Linked DNA regions of Homo sapiens: all the other regions are linked to region 1. Evidence: promoter capture Hi-C in human tissues and cell types (Jung and others, 2019). All regions are on one chromosome and are shown on one strand. Each heading gives the region's core, a stretch centred on a gene start or on the middle of the fragment in contact. The rest is flanking DNA. Distances are from core to core; before and after follow the strand shown.

The links. Contacts are between HindIII fragments. The study calls those that stand out against the background at their distance.
Region 2: the fragment with the promoter of TCF3 here is called in contact with the fragment with the promoter of LINGO3 in region 1 in 2 of the 25 tissues and cell types used here (adrenal gland and spleen).
Region 3: a contact is called between the fragment with the promoter of TLE6 here and the fragment with the promoter of LINGO3 in region 1, in 2 of the 25 tissues and cell types used here (dorsolateral prefrontal cortex and psoas muscle).
Region 4: a contact is called between a fragment that was not itself captured here and the fragment with the promoter of LINGO3 in region 1, in 1 of the 25 tissues and cell types used here (pancreas).
Region 5: the fragment with the promoter of PLK5 here is called in contact with the fragment with the promoter of LINGO3 in region 1 in 2 of the 25 tissues and cell types used here (lymphoblastoid cells and spleen).

Annotation. Positions count from the first base shown.
Region 1 is chr19:2,306,904-2,309,603 of GRCh38, forward strand. LINGO3 (leucine rich repeat and Ig domain containing 3) reads right to left here and starts at 1,251. Exons shown (of 2, transcript NM_001101391.3): 1 at 1,173-1,251. The HindIII fragment of the contact is 18,961 bases long and covers 1-2,700 here.
Region 2 is chr19:1,651,165-1,653,864 of GRCh38, forward strand. It overlaps TCF3 (transcription factor 3), which reads right to left and starts at 1,451. Exons shown (of 19, transcript NM_003200.5): 1 at 1,136-1,451. RefSeq lists silencers at 370-489, 470-692, 500-729, 820-899, 1,430-1,559 and 1 more and enhancers at 1,910-1,959, 2,080-2,189. The HindIII fragment of the contact is 17,847 bases long and covers 1-2,700 here.
Region 3 is chr19:2,976,119-2,978,818 of GRCh38, forward strand. TLE6 (TLE family member 6, subcortical maternal complex member) reads left to right here and starts at 1,446. Exons shown (of 17, transcript NM_001143986.2): 1 at 1,446-1,492; 2 at 2,080-2,166. The coding sequence starts at 2,116. RefSeq lists a silencer at 1,168-1,477. The HindIII fragment of the contact is 31,192 bases long and covers 1-2,700 here.
Region 4 is chr19:1,542,200-1,544,899 of GRCh38, forward strand. No RefSeq gene overlaps it. Among named protein-coding and RNA genes, the nearest start is that of PLK5, 19 kb to the left of the region's middle. The HindIII fragment of the contact is 4,742 bases long and covers 1-2,700 here.
Region 5 is chr19:1,522,627-1,525,326 of GRCh38, forward strand. It overlaps PLK5 (polo like kinase 5 (inactive)), which reads left to right and starts at 1,451. Exons shown (of 14, transcript NM_001243079.2): 1 at 1,451-1,620; 2 at 2,679-2,700. The HindIII fragment of the contact is 15,366 bases long and covers 1-2,700 here.

The sequences.
Region 1 (2,700 bases), core at 1-2,500:
GTAAGGCCATGCCGCGGCAGCCCACCCCACACCAGCCTCCTGATAAAGCCAGCACCACCCTCCCTGAACCTGTTTCCAGCCTGCGTCCTCCACCTGACCACTCACACCTCACACCTTCTGCATCCTCTCCAGGCCACTTCCAGGGAGCCCTCCTGGGTTGCTCTGGTTCTCACAGCTCTGTTGTCCCTGAAGGCTCCCCCCAGCCAAGCCCCAGATCGTCCCTCTGCAAATACCACTGCACAGCAGACGCCCGCTCCCCACCCCCGCCGGAGCAAGGGTGTCTGCAGCCTCGCTGCGTCCATGGTTTAGCCAGGGACCGCTTGCTAAAATGCAGCTTCTGGGGCACATCGCCTCAGAAGTTCTGACTCCTCAGAACTGGGGGGGCCGGGACACCGGCACCGTTAGCGCCCCAAGCACACGTTGAGAAACCCAGTTACATGGTGGTCTCCAGCGTAAGGACCCGGGGCTTTTCTTGTGCCCGGACCAAGGCACGAGGTGCTGCTCCCCTAAACTTGTTGAATGGGACTCAGGGCCTCCCCTGGCCAGGCCCCAGAGGCCCGGGAGGTGGCGGCACCCACTCAGGGTGCCCAGGCCCACCATTTCTGGTGCTATTCAGACGCCCCCAGAGCAGGGGGACTCAGCCCTATGCCCCCAGGTCCCTCCCCGCCAGGCCGGGCCGTCAGCTCCAGCGATGGAGCAGGCTCCGGTGTGGACCCCAGATACCCTTTGCGTCTTCCAGCTCCGCACCCCCAGGCTGGACCAGACCCGGCTCGGGGGAGACAGGGCAGGAAGGCGCGGGCTGCAGGCTCTATTCGGACGTTCCCCACACCCCAGACCCAACCAGTGCCCCCTTCATCTCCTCCTGGAGAGGAGCGCATCCTCCCAGCGTCCCCAGTGCCCCGGGGAGATGCCCACCCGATTCCCCGCTCCTTGGCGCCCCAGAGGAGGGGCGGGGGGCCCCAGGGTGGGGAGTTCGCCCCCAAAGTTTCCAGGGGGAGCGTCGGGGGCCTGGCAAGGAGCGATGAGCCCGGGAGGGGTGCGCGGGGCAATTTCCCCCGGCTGAGGATGGGGTCGCGGGTTGGGGGCTTTGGGCGGCAGGGTCGCAGGGTGCAGGTGAGGGGTCCCCAGGTCTGCGGGCGCGCCCCACGCCGGGCCCCGGCACGGCCACTCACCTGGGCGGCTCCGCCGCGGACACGGCGCGGGCTGCGGCGCGGGGGCCGCCCGGAGCCGACACGAGCAGCCGCCGCCGCCGCCGCCGCCGCCGCCGCCGCCTCCCGGGCTCCGCCGTGCGCGCCGCCGCCGCGCGCAACCGCCCGCCGGTCTCCTCGGCGCGCCTGGCGGGGGCGCGCGGGGGCTGCGCTGGGCCGCGTGCGCGGCGGCTGGGGCCGCAGGTGTGAGAGGCCACGTGGGCGCAGGTGCGGGGACACTGGGAGCGCGGGTGCAGAACCCCTCCGTGCGCATCCCGGGCGCTTCGTGTCCGAGGACCTCCTGTCCCCACGGCCTGGGTGAGCCTGCGGAGACGGCCGTGCCGTGCAATAAACGCAGGGGCACCCCAAGTGCAGCAGGTTGTTCCGTGTGGAACCTTCTGGAAGCTACCATCGCCTCCTCTGCCCCCCGTCCCCCACCCCTAGTCCAGGCCGCCACCATCTGCACCTGGACATCTGCCACAGCCCAGCCCAGGCCCATTCCTTATGTGGCCCTCAGAGGAAGCCCCTCAGAGGAAGCTTAGCCACTGGGCTCCAGAACCTGCCGTGATTCCCTATTGCCGTGAGGGTCCCGTCTGCACCCCACCTACCCTGGAATTTCTCTTTCTTTCGTTCTTTCTTTCTTTCTTTCTTTCTTTTTTTTTTTGAGATGGAGTCTTGCTCTGTTGCCCAGGCTGGAGTACAGCGGTGCCATCTTGGCTCACTGCAACCTCCGCCTCCTGGGTTCAAGCGATTCTCCTGCCTCAGCCTCCCAAGTAGCTGGGATTACAGGCACCCGCCACCACGCCCGGCTAATTTTTGTATTTTTATTAGAGACGGATTTTCAGCATGTTGGCCAGGCTGGTCTCAAACCCCTGACCTCGGGTGATCCACCCACCTCGGCCTCCCAAAGTGCTGGGATGACAGGTGTGAGCCACCGCCCGGCTGCCTGCACTGTTTGGTCTGCCGCACCACCTCCTTCCCCCTGGCCTGTCCTCACTCACTCTTTCCCGGGCTCCACCCCCTCAGCCTTCCTCAAACAGGCCAAGTCCCTCCAGTCCCAGGCCTTTGATCTTCGCTGTGCCCAGCTTGGACAGCCTTTCTCTCTGTCCCTCCATCGAGCAGCTTGGAGCCTCTCAGTTTGTCTAATGGGCTTGTTCCCCAATGTGCCTTCCGCCTAGCACACAGCAGCGCACACACCAAGTGCACTGCGAGTGCTCATGGAAAGTTTTTTACCTTTTTTTTTGTCTTTTTTTTTTTTTTTTTTTTTTGAAATGGAGTTTTGCTCTCGTCACCCATTCTGGAGTGCAGTGGTGCAATCTTGGCTCACTGCAACTTCCACCTCCCGGGTTCAGGCGATTCTCCTGTCTCAGTCTCCCAAGTAGCTGGGATTACAGGCGCCCATGACCATGCCTGGCTAATTTTTGTATTTTTAGGGGAGATAGAGTTTCACCATGTTGGCCAGGCTGGTCTCGAACTCCTGACCTCAGGTGATCCACCCGCCTCGGCCTCCCAA
Region 2 (2,700 bases), core at 201-2,700, 660 kb before region 1:
CCAGAAAAAGGTACAGAGAAAAATTTCCATTCCAAAGAAATGCACTCCAGGCCCCTCCAGTCTCGACTTTCCCCAGGGGTCCCCAGGTGGGGACGGGGGCAGCCCGGGAGACACCTCCGAGGCTGGGGGTGGGGAGGAGCCTCCGAGGTCGAGGGAGACCCAACTTCAGAAGCAGAGAAATCCCCTCTTTGTCTGCCAACTGGAGGCCGGGTGTGAAGCGGGCGCCCCAGCGCAGCCCCTCCCCCGCTCAGTTTTTTTCTTTTTTGGAGGGCGTGTGAAACTGACTTTTTTTGAGGACTACGAAACCGCACTTTTTTGTGGGGTAGCTGAAACCGATTTTAAGACAGACTTAGTTGGGGGGGTGGCGAGCTAAAACGGGCATTCTACGGGAGCTGGAAGACTTCTGGGGCGTCCCAAGGACTTTGAGAGACTTGGAGAATGTTTGAAGCCACTTTGCACGGCGCCGAAGGCGGGGGGCGCGCTGGAACGCCTTTTTCCCGGGGGGAGGCGGCCCGGGAAGCCGGACCCCCCTCCCCCCGCAGCCGGTGCAGGCGGTGCGGCCCGGGAGCCTTTGAAGCTCGCAGCGCGGCCGCCGCCTCGCCCCGCATTAACGCGGAGCAGATGTTACCCGCGCGCCCCCCCCCGGCCCGCCCGGCCCCGACCAGCGCCTGCAGCGCGCGGCACCTTCCCCGCGCAGACAAAAGGACGTCCCTCCCGCGCGCTCCCCACCCCAAACTCCGGCGCCCGGGCCGGGCCCCCCTCTACCCGAGAAAGGGGGCGCCCCGGGGTCCCCGTGCGCCCGGGCTGGGGGGGACGGTCCTCGCGCCTAAGTTGCACAGCCCGTCCGGCGCCCCCCGCGCCCCCGCCCGGGGCTGCTTAAAGTTTCCCGAAGTGCCCGGCCCGACGGGGGCGACGCGGGCCTGGCGAGCTCCGGGCTCCTCCACGTCGCCGCCCCCCCGGCGCCGCGCGAAGTTGGAGAACAATGACTCCCGGGCCGCGGGGCGCCCCCCGACACCGCCCCCGCCCCAACTTCCTCCGCGCCCCCCCCCAACAAGCGCGCGCGGGGCGGGCCGGGGTTCCCTGGGCACAAAGCACGGGGGTACCGGGCGCGCCCCCCGCCCCCCGCCGGGCTCACCTGCTGGGCGCGGCCGGGCACGCGGCGCGTGGGGGGGGGCGGCGGCATGAAGCGGGGGGGCCCCCCCCCGGACAAAGGTGCGTCGCGGCCGGGCCCCCGAGGGTCGCGCGTGGGCGGCGGCGGCGGCGCGCGTGGCCCGGGCCCCTCCCACCCCCGCGTGGCCCGTCCCGCGGGGCCCGTGCGCGCGGCCGGCCGGGGCGCCCCTGGGGCAGCGGCGTGCGCGGTGCCCGCGGTGCCCGCCGCCGCGTCGGCTCCGGCCCGCTACGCCCGCAGCCGCCGCCGCTGCCTCATCTTCCTGCGGCGGGAGACATGTTCCGCCCCCCGCCCGCGCCGCCCCGCCCCGCCCCGTGCAGGCCCCGCCCCTGCCCCGCCCCCGAGTGCCCCGCCCGGCGGCCCACGCGGATCCCTCCGCCACCTCCGGGCGGCTCGGGCCCGAACGCCCTAGCTCGGCCTCTCGAGCACCCTCGTGAGGACCCCGAATCCCGTGAGGTCCAGAGCCTGGGAGCGGGGACGCGCAGAGGAGGCGGTCGGGCCACGGCGCGGGGAGAAATCACGGACTATCCCCGTCCGCGGAAGCACACACGAGCTGTGCGCTTAGTCCATGACGCAAGCGAGTAAGGCCCGTGAGATTGAAAGCTAAGGCAGAGCAGTCTGGTCAATCGGAAGCCGCGAAAGTCTGATGGGCGGGGATCCTAGCCATTCGTGGTGAGGCCCCGCCTCCTTTCTTCTCGGCCCCGCCCCTCAGCAGAGGCGGGACTCTGCGAGCGAGAGGCCGCGAGAGGCGGCCGGGGTGGGTCCTGGAGTTTTGTTCTCAGGTTGGCGTGGCCGCCCGCGCGGAGCCTTCTGCTTGGTTATATTTGCGTTCCTCGGGCCGGCCCCGCGTGCTGAGTGGTGCGAGCGGGTATCACGGCCCCGAGGGGGCTACGTCAGACCCATTTTCCCGGCGGGAAAACCGACTCTGGCTCCGGCTCTGGGTCAGAGAGCCCCGCGGGGAGTCTCAGCGGTGCCTTTGCCGACTTGAGTCTCCGTCTCGGCATCTGTGAATTTGGACCTGACTTTGGACAGAACTCAGGCCAGATCTGGCTTCCTGATTCTTAGTAGTCCGTGTCTACATTTTAGTAAAAAGTGACCCCGCCTAGGATCGGGCGCCGTGGCTCCTGCCTGTGATCCCAGCGCTTTGAAGGAGGCCGAGGCGGGAAGATCGCTTGAGGCCAGGAGTTCGAGAACAGCCTGAACAACATAGTGAAACCCCCCCCACCCACACCCGTCTCTAAAAATATTTAAAATAATTTAAAATAATAATTTAAAAAGTTGACCGGACGCGGTGGCCCACGCTTGTATTCCCAGCACTTTGGGAGGCCAAGGCGGGCAGATCACCTGAAGTCAGGAGTTCGAGACCTCTCTGGCCAACACGGTGAAACCCCATCTCTACTAAAAATACAAAAATTAGCCGGGCATGGTGGCGGGCACCTGTAGTCCTAGCTACTCGGGAGGCTGAGGCAGCAGAATCGCTTTCACCCGAAAGGCGGAGGTTGCAATGAGCCGAGAGCACGCCATTGTACTCC
Region 3 (2,700 bases), core at 196-2,695, 670 kb after region 1:
GACTGTCCCTGGCAGAGTGAACTGCTAATGCCAGTACCAGGTCCTGGGCCAAACAGAAAGAAACGGGCTCTCACTCCAGAACTGCAGCTTGACCACTATATATATAATATATATACTTTATATATATTATAGCTATATATTTTTTTGAGATGGAGTCTTGCTCTGTTGCTCAGACTGGAGTGCAGTGGCACGATCATAGCTCACTCCAGACTCAACCTCCTGGGCTTACGCCATCCTCCTGCCTCAGCCTCCCCAGTAGCTGAGACTACAGGTGCATGACCACCACACTTGGCTAATTTTTAAATTTTTTGTAGAGACGCGGTGTCACTGTGTTGCCCAGGCTGGTCTCCAACTCCTGGCCTCAAGCAATCCTCCCACCTCAGCCTTCCAAAATGCTGGGATCACAGGTGTGAGCCATGGTGACTTGGCTTCATATTTTGAATAGGCCAAAACAAAACTCCGAAATCCCCTTACTCCTATCCCCACGACCCCACACAGCAGGTTTCTCTCGCTCTGCAGCAACCCACTTACCTCTCGGAAATCATCCCAGGCCTGTTCGGAGTGCACGCAGCCCCGTTAGCCTCCCTGGCTGCTCCTGTAACCAGCCCAGCTCTGCCTGAGAGGTTCCGCTATTCCCTCCGTCTGGAATACCCACCACTCTCTCCCACCCCGCGCTTGCATCCGGCAATACTGTATCAGCCTCAGGGCCTCTGCTGTCCCGCTTTCTGCTCTCAGAGCCTTTGTCACTGGGCTGGAAGAGCAGTTGGGAAAATTCGGTGATAAATGCATAGCCCGGGGCTGGGACCATCAAGGGGACCCAGTAAGTTGGCTCCAGAAAGAGGACTTGAAGCTTCGTTTGCATTGCACGTTATTTAATATTGAGGAAAATGTAATTAGCCCGTATCTAAGAATTGGGGTGACAGCGCTAAAGATTGAACCCACCCACCTCCCACTCCTCACCTCCAGCCATAAGCCACTTCCGGACAAGGCTAAAAATGCGTAAAACAATGCAACTACTCGCCACCTATCCCTGCCCAAGTTCCAGCCTCTGAGCCTCAAGCCCCACGCCCTCCTAAATATCCCCGCCCCCGCTGGGACCCCAAATTGCCTATAGCTCTGCAAGTCCGCCCTTCCCGGCAGCGGGACCGAAAGGGTAAAGCAGAGGCTCCCGGCTCGCTGAGTGACAGCATGGCCGGCGGCCGGGGAGAGCCGACCAATCAGGGAGGGCGTACGCGACCCACGTGCGTAAACGGCCTCGCTATTGGCCGGCGCCGCCAGAGGCCTGCCCCCCCCGGAGCCCGAACCCACGTGCAGCTACTGCGCCTTCATTGATCTGCTTCGCGGTCCAGGTGGCGGCTGGGTGGGGCCTGGGCGGGACGGGGCGGGGACAAGGCGGGACGAGGCGGGGCCCGATGGGTCAAATGGCCCCCGGTGGGGGAAGGAGGAGTTTCCTCTTGGCCTGAACTTGGCTGACCTCCGCAGCTTCCGCCCGGTGAGGGACGTGAGTTGCCAGGCGTGTTCTAGGGGGCTGGGGGGACTCCAGGATTCCCGGCCGGGGAAGGGGCTGCAGGGGCGTGGAGGGGCAGGACTGAGGCAAGGAAGAAGCTGGGTGCTGCAGCAGGGATGGAGGTGGAGAGAGGTCGTTTCTTCTGTCTGATGAATTCCGCCTAATGCACCTGGCTAACTCCTAGTCATCCTTCAAAACCCCTTTCTAGTGATCTCCCTGCGCTTTAGGAAATTGTCTCAAAACTAAGGTTGAGCTTTGGCGACCTTCCCTGGGCTCCCCCGTCCCTGACTGCCCCCAGCAGGGAGTGTATGTGCACTATCCACCCCAGCCTCCTAGGGTGAGGCCTGGGAGGCAAGGCTCAGTTCTTTCTGGGTCCCCGCCCCCATGAATCTGGGCAGCTGGAGGCATTGATAAGTGAGGACAGGACCTAGGGAACGCATGGGAGAACCGCAGGATTGGGTCCCTGGAGACTTACCAAACTGGGAGGTGCGGGTGGGGTAACGGGTGCCTTGCTTCCCTGGCACTGCCTTATTTTCTGTCCCTCAAGACCTGCCGTCTCCTTGTTGTTTTAGACTCTGGCTAAAGTCTTGGAGGCTACTGCCTTGAAGATGACCTCTAGGGACCAGCCCAGACCCAAGGGCCCCCCGAAAAGCACTTCGGTGAGGAGGGCATGTGGTGGGATCAGCCCTCAAGGGAAACCCGGGCCCAATGTGGTTCTGCCCCTTTTCCACCTGTGACCTGGGCTGGCCCCGCCCAGGCCTCGCAGCTGAAGACAATACTGGTCGCTGCTACACTCAAGACAGGTGCCAAGGAGCCGTGTTTTTTAAAAAAAATTAAGTGTAGGCTGGACACTGTGGCTCACAACTGTAATCTCAACATTTTTGGAGGCCGAGGCAGGAGGACCACTTGAGCCCAGGAGTTTGAAACCAGCCTGGACAACGTAGTGAGACCCTGTCTCTGTAAAAAATAAAACTAGAAGAATCAGCTGGGCCTAGTGACGTGGGCCTGTAGTTGCAGCTACTTGGGAGGCTGAGGCAGAGGGTTGGCTTGAGCCCAAGGAGTTTGAGGCTGCAGTGAACTATGATGGTGCCACTGCACTCCATCCTTGGTGACAGTGAGATCCCATCTAAAAAAAAATGTAGCATCTAATCACATATGTGATAAAAACACAGGAACACATCATGTATTTGGTT
Region 4 (2,700 bases), core at 3-2,502, 760 kb before region 1:
CTGGCTCAAAGATTTTTTTTTCTTTCTTCCCTTCTTCTTCCTTCTTCTCCCTACTCCCTTCTCTTCCTCTTTCTCCTCCTCCTTCCTTCTCCTTCTTTTTCTTTTTGGAAACCACTGATTTAACCCTGAGAGAGGGAAAACTTGTCCTGGCAAGAATTTCCAAAGCTCAGTTTTATTTTTTAAGACAAAGTCTCGCTCTTGTCACTCAGGCTGGAGTGCAGTGGCGTGCTCTCGGCTCACTGCAGCTTCCGACTCCCTGGTTCAGGAGATTTTTCTCGTGCCTCAGGATCCCAAGTAGCTGGTACTACAGGCGTCATCATGCCCGGATAAATTTTCTACTTTTAGTAGAGACGGGGTTTCACCATGTTGGCCAGGCTGGTCTCGAACTCCCGACCTCAGGGGATCCACCCGCCTCGGCCTCCCAAAGTGCTGGTATTACAGGCGTGAGCCCCAGCGCCCGGCCCCAAAGTTCCGTTTTACCCTTTTTCCCACGCTGAGGCTACAGCTGAACCCAGCCTCCAGACCACCTCCTCATTGGTCTATGGGAGCACGTGACATCATGCGTCCTCCAATCACCAGCAAGCAAGCAAGGCGTGGGCGGGACCAAGGGCGGCTACCTCTGGGGCCAGCAGGATTGGCTGTTGCCCGTGGTAACTGTGTGTGACGTCATAAAGCTTCCTTGCACCTTGGCAAGGCCCCGGGAGCAGGGACCTTTTCTCTCCCACTATACAGATGGGGACACTGAGGCGCTGGTTCTCAATCTATGAAAAAATGGGGTGCTGGTAGGTAGGTCAACCTGGGTCCCACGGGGAGTTTTCAAACTCCTGATGACTCCAGAGAATTACGCTGAGTGAAAAAAGCCTGTCCCGGCCGGGCGCGGTGGCCCACGCCTGTAATCCCCGCACTTAAGGAGGTCGAGGCAGCCGGGTCACAAGGTCAAGAGATCGAGACCAGCCTGGCCAACATGGTGAAACCCCATCTCTACTAAAAATACAAAAATTAGCCGGGCGTGGTGGCGGGCGCCTGTAGTCCCAGCTACTCGGGGAGCTGAGGGAGGAGAATCACTTTCACCACGGAGGCGGAGGTTGCAGTGAGCCTAGATCACGCCACTGCACTCCAGCCTGGGTGACAGAGTGAGACTCCGTCTCGGGAAAAAAAAAAAAAAAAAAAAATTAGCCGGGCATAGTGGGGTGTGCCTGTGGTCCCAGCTACTCAGTTGGCTGAGGTGGGAGGATCACCTGAGCCCAGGAGTTCCAGACCACCCTGGGGAACATAGTGAGACCCCATCTCTATAAAAAATTAGAAAATTAAGGCCAGGCGCGGTGGCTCACGCCTATAATCCCAGCACTTTGGGAGGCCGAGGCGGGCGGATCAGGAGGTCAGGAGATCGAGACCATCCTGGCTAACACGGTGAAACCCTGTCTCTACTAAAAATACAAAAAATTAGCCGGGCGTGGTGGCGGGTGCCTGTCGTCCCAGCTACTCGGGAGGCTGAGGCAGGAGAATGGCGTGAACCCGGGGAGACGGAGCTTGCAGTGAGCCGAGATGGCGCCACCGCACCCCAGCCTGGGCGACAGAGCAAGACTACGTCTCAAAATAAATAAATAAATAAATAAATAAATAAGCCAAGGATGATGATGCACACCTGTAGTCCTAGCTGCTTGGGCGACTGAGGCAGGAGGATGCCTTGAACCCAGGAGTTCATGTAGGTTGCAGTGAGCTGTAGTTGCACCACTGGAGTCCAGCCTGGGCAACAGAGCAAGACCCTGTGTAAAGAACAAAAAAAGTTTATGTAACATTTTAGAAATGGAATTAGGGTTAGGGATGAGGGTGCGGGGAGGGTGCACAAACAGCAAGAGATCCTGATGGTGATGGAAATGCTCCATGTCATGATGGTGGATACACGAATCTACCCAGGCCAGCAAATTATAGGAGACTAAAGACATCTCACACACTCACACACACGATCACAAGTTAAACTGAGGAATCCTGAGTAAGATTGATGGATTGTATCCATGTGAAATCTTACTTATATGTTTTTTAGAGATGGAGTGTCCTTAATGCACCCCAGGCTGGAGTGCAATTTTGTGATCTCAGCTCACTGCAGCCTCTGGGGTTCAAGCGATTCTCCTGCCTCAGCCTCCGGAGTAGCTGGGATTACAGGCGCCCACCACCACGCCCGACTAATTTTTGTATTTTTAGTAGAGATGGGGTTCCACTATGTTGGCCAGGCTGCTGTCGAACTCCTGACCTCGTGATTCACCTGCCTTGGACTCTCAAAGTGCTGTGATTACAGGCGTGAGCCACCACACCCGTTTTTGTTTTGTTTTGTTTTGTTTTGTTTTTGTTTTGAGATGGAGTCTCACTCTGTTGCCCAGGCGAGAGTGCAGTGGTGTGTTCTAGGCTCAGTGCAACCACCGCCTCCCAGGTTCAAACGAGTCTCCTGCCTCAGCCTCCCGAGTAGCTGGGACTACAGGTGCCCGCCACCACGCCCGGCTAATTTTTTGTTGTTGTTGTATTTTTGGTAAAGAGGAGGTTCCCCATGTTGGCCAGCCTGGTCTCGCACTCCTGACCTCAGGTGATCCACCTGCCTTGGCCTCCCAAAATGCTGGGATTACAGGCATGAGCCACAGCACTCGGCCCTTCCCTCCTTTCTTTCTGAGACAGGGTCTTGTTCCGTCACCCAGACTGGAGTGCAGT
Region 5 (2,700 bases), core at 201-2,700, 780 kb before region 1:
AACAAACAAACAAAAAAAAAAGCAAGGAACTGGCTTTCTGCCCCTGGAGGATTCCAGGGTGACAGTCGTGTGACAGCTCAGACACTCGGGCCCCGAGCAGCCCACCTTGCAGCCACCTCACCTGATTCTCATCAGCAGGGGACTTGGGCTCCCCAGCTGCAACCCGGTGGCCCCAGGCTGGCCAGGAATCTTCCGCCCTGGCCCTGGGACCAGAAACCCCGCAAAGGTGCCCGAGCTCAGCCCCGTCCAATGCACGGGGGCCCCATTCGTGACACCAGGTGGACACGTGACGGCTCAGAAGGTGTTTCCTGTCCCTAGTGGTGTGGCCGGGCCAGATTCCGAAATCTGGTCCCTGGAAAATTCCAGCCCCACGGAGCCTGGTAACCCCTCCCCATTCCTGGTGTTATGTAACATTTGGGGATTAATACCGCAGGCGTCCAGGGGCGGCTGCCGGGATTCAAACCCAGCGCTGCCCTTTCCTGGGCTGACTGAGCGACTTTGCGTCCCTGGGTCTCAATGTCTTGCCTGTACAATGGGGACAAGGCCCGTTTTTGTGTCCCAGGCTGGGTGGAAGGGTGAGGGAAGACCTCACCAGGAAAGGGGTGCACCTGAGTCTGGGGCAGGGCTTGGAGCAACCACCCCCACGATTCCGGGGGAGTCTCAAGCCCCCCACTGTCTTCCCACCCAGCTGTTCTCTGAGTTCTCTGAGGTTTCTGATGCTCTCTGAGGTCGCCATTTCAAGGACGTCCCCACCTGGCTGTCCGTGCAAACCCCAGCCAGGGTCCACCTGCTGCTCCACACAGCCCATCCCTTCTCCGGGCTGAAGCTCCCTCATATGGGACATCCACTACACTGTAGGACCCCAGCCCATGCGTCCCCAAGCCCCGGTCCTGCCTCCTGGGTCCCTGTCCCAGGCCTCACCGCCCTCCCCACCAGCCCCAGCATCACAAACGCTGGGCTTCTCTGCCGCTCCGAATTCTGCTGTGGCTCCCCAGTGCCCAGGGCCATCAAGCCCCAGGTTTTCATGTGGGCCCCAGGGACCCGCCAGCAGGGAGGACCCGAAATGGCACACATTCAGAACGTCGAGGCTCATACCTCAAGCGCACTGTGGGGGAGAAGCCCCCGGAAGCCCCCAACCCCCCACGCGCGAGAGAGCCTCAGTTTCCCGCTCGGTAAAGCGGGCGTATCAGCGGTTCCCAGCCAGCCCGGGTGTGCAGGGTCGGAGGAGCTCGCGGGCTGAGCGCGGCCCCTGGCGCCCGGTTGGCGTGCGGGACTCGGGCGCGCTCTGGTCCGTGGAACTTCCCCAGCCGCGGCGTCCCCGCCGCTCACGCGCCCCCCACTCCACGGCCGGGCACCTCCCGCCCCTCCCCGGGCTGGACCTGCGCCCGGGCTCCGCCCCCTCCCCGCCCCCGCGGCCAATAAAACGCTCCCCGGCGGCTCCTGCGCCCTCAGAGCGGCCCCGGAGCGGCCGCAGCGCGGTGGTCTCGGCCCGGCTGCGCCAGAGTCCGCGCGATGGAGCCCCGGCCGCGGCGGCGGCGCAGGAGTCGCCCCCTGGTCGCCGCCTTCCTGCGAGACCCGGGCTCGGGCCGCGTGTACAGGCGCGGGAAGCTGATCGGCAAGGTGGGAGGCCCGCGCCCCGAGTCCGCGACGGGGCCGGACCGGGCTGGGCTGGGGTCCCGGGGCGCGCGGGCGATCCTGCGCGGTCTACGCGGCGCGTCCCTGCGAGCGCGGGGTCTGGAGCGGGCGCGCGTCCGGAGCCGCGGGGCCTCCCGTGCGGGGTTTCGCATGGCGGGAACCGTGTTGAGCGCGCTGTGCGTCGTGTCCGTGGGTTGCGTGTCCGGGGTGTGGGCGTGCGGCTCGGCCTCGGGATGCGACGCTGTGTTGCCCCTGGGTGTGTGTGCGAGCCTGGCGAGGGTCTGAGTGTGCCGCGTCTGTGCCCGCTGCTTCCAAGTGTCTGGGTGCTGTGCGGTGTTCGTGTGTGTGTGTGTGTGTGTGTGTGTGTGTGTCTGGGTGTTGTGTTGCTTGTTCACCTGTTGTTTGTGCGTCATGCCTTTGTGTGTCCAGTCATTGTGTTGTGTGTCTGGGTGTTGTGTGTTCATGTGGTGTGCTTGTGTGTTTGTGTGTTCATATGTGGTGTGTCTAGGAGTTGTGTGTTCATGTGTTTGTATCTGTGTCTTTGTCCATGTGTTGTACTGTGTGTCCAGGTGTTGTGTGTTCATGTGTTTGTGTGTTCCTGTGCTGTGTCTGGGTATTGTGTTGTGTGTCCACACGTGGTGACTGTGTGTCCAGACATTGTATATTCATGTGTTTGTGTGTTGCTGCGTTGTGTATCTGGGTGTTGTGTTGTGTGTCCATGCATGGTGACTCTGTGTCTGGGCGTTGCGTGTTTGTGTGTCGTATTCAGGCGTGGTGTTGTGCATCCGGTGCTGTCTTCTGGTCCGTGGCCTCTATGCACCAGGCGTGGATGTGTCTGTGTCTGTGTCTCTGTGCCTTCTTGTGTGCATCATGTCTTGTGTGTCCAGGCGGGAGGGTGGGAGCTGTGTGTTGTTTTTTCCCCGGTGTGTGTGTGGAGAGACCTGGACGCGCCTGCGTCCCTGGCTGCCCTGTGCCTCTGTACGCGCTGCCAGCTTGCACACCCGTGCACACCTGCCCACTGATCTGCTGACCCCTCCCCACAGGGCGCCTTCAGCCGCTGCTACA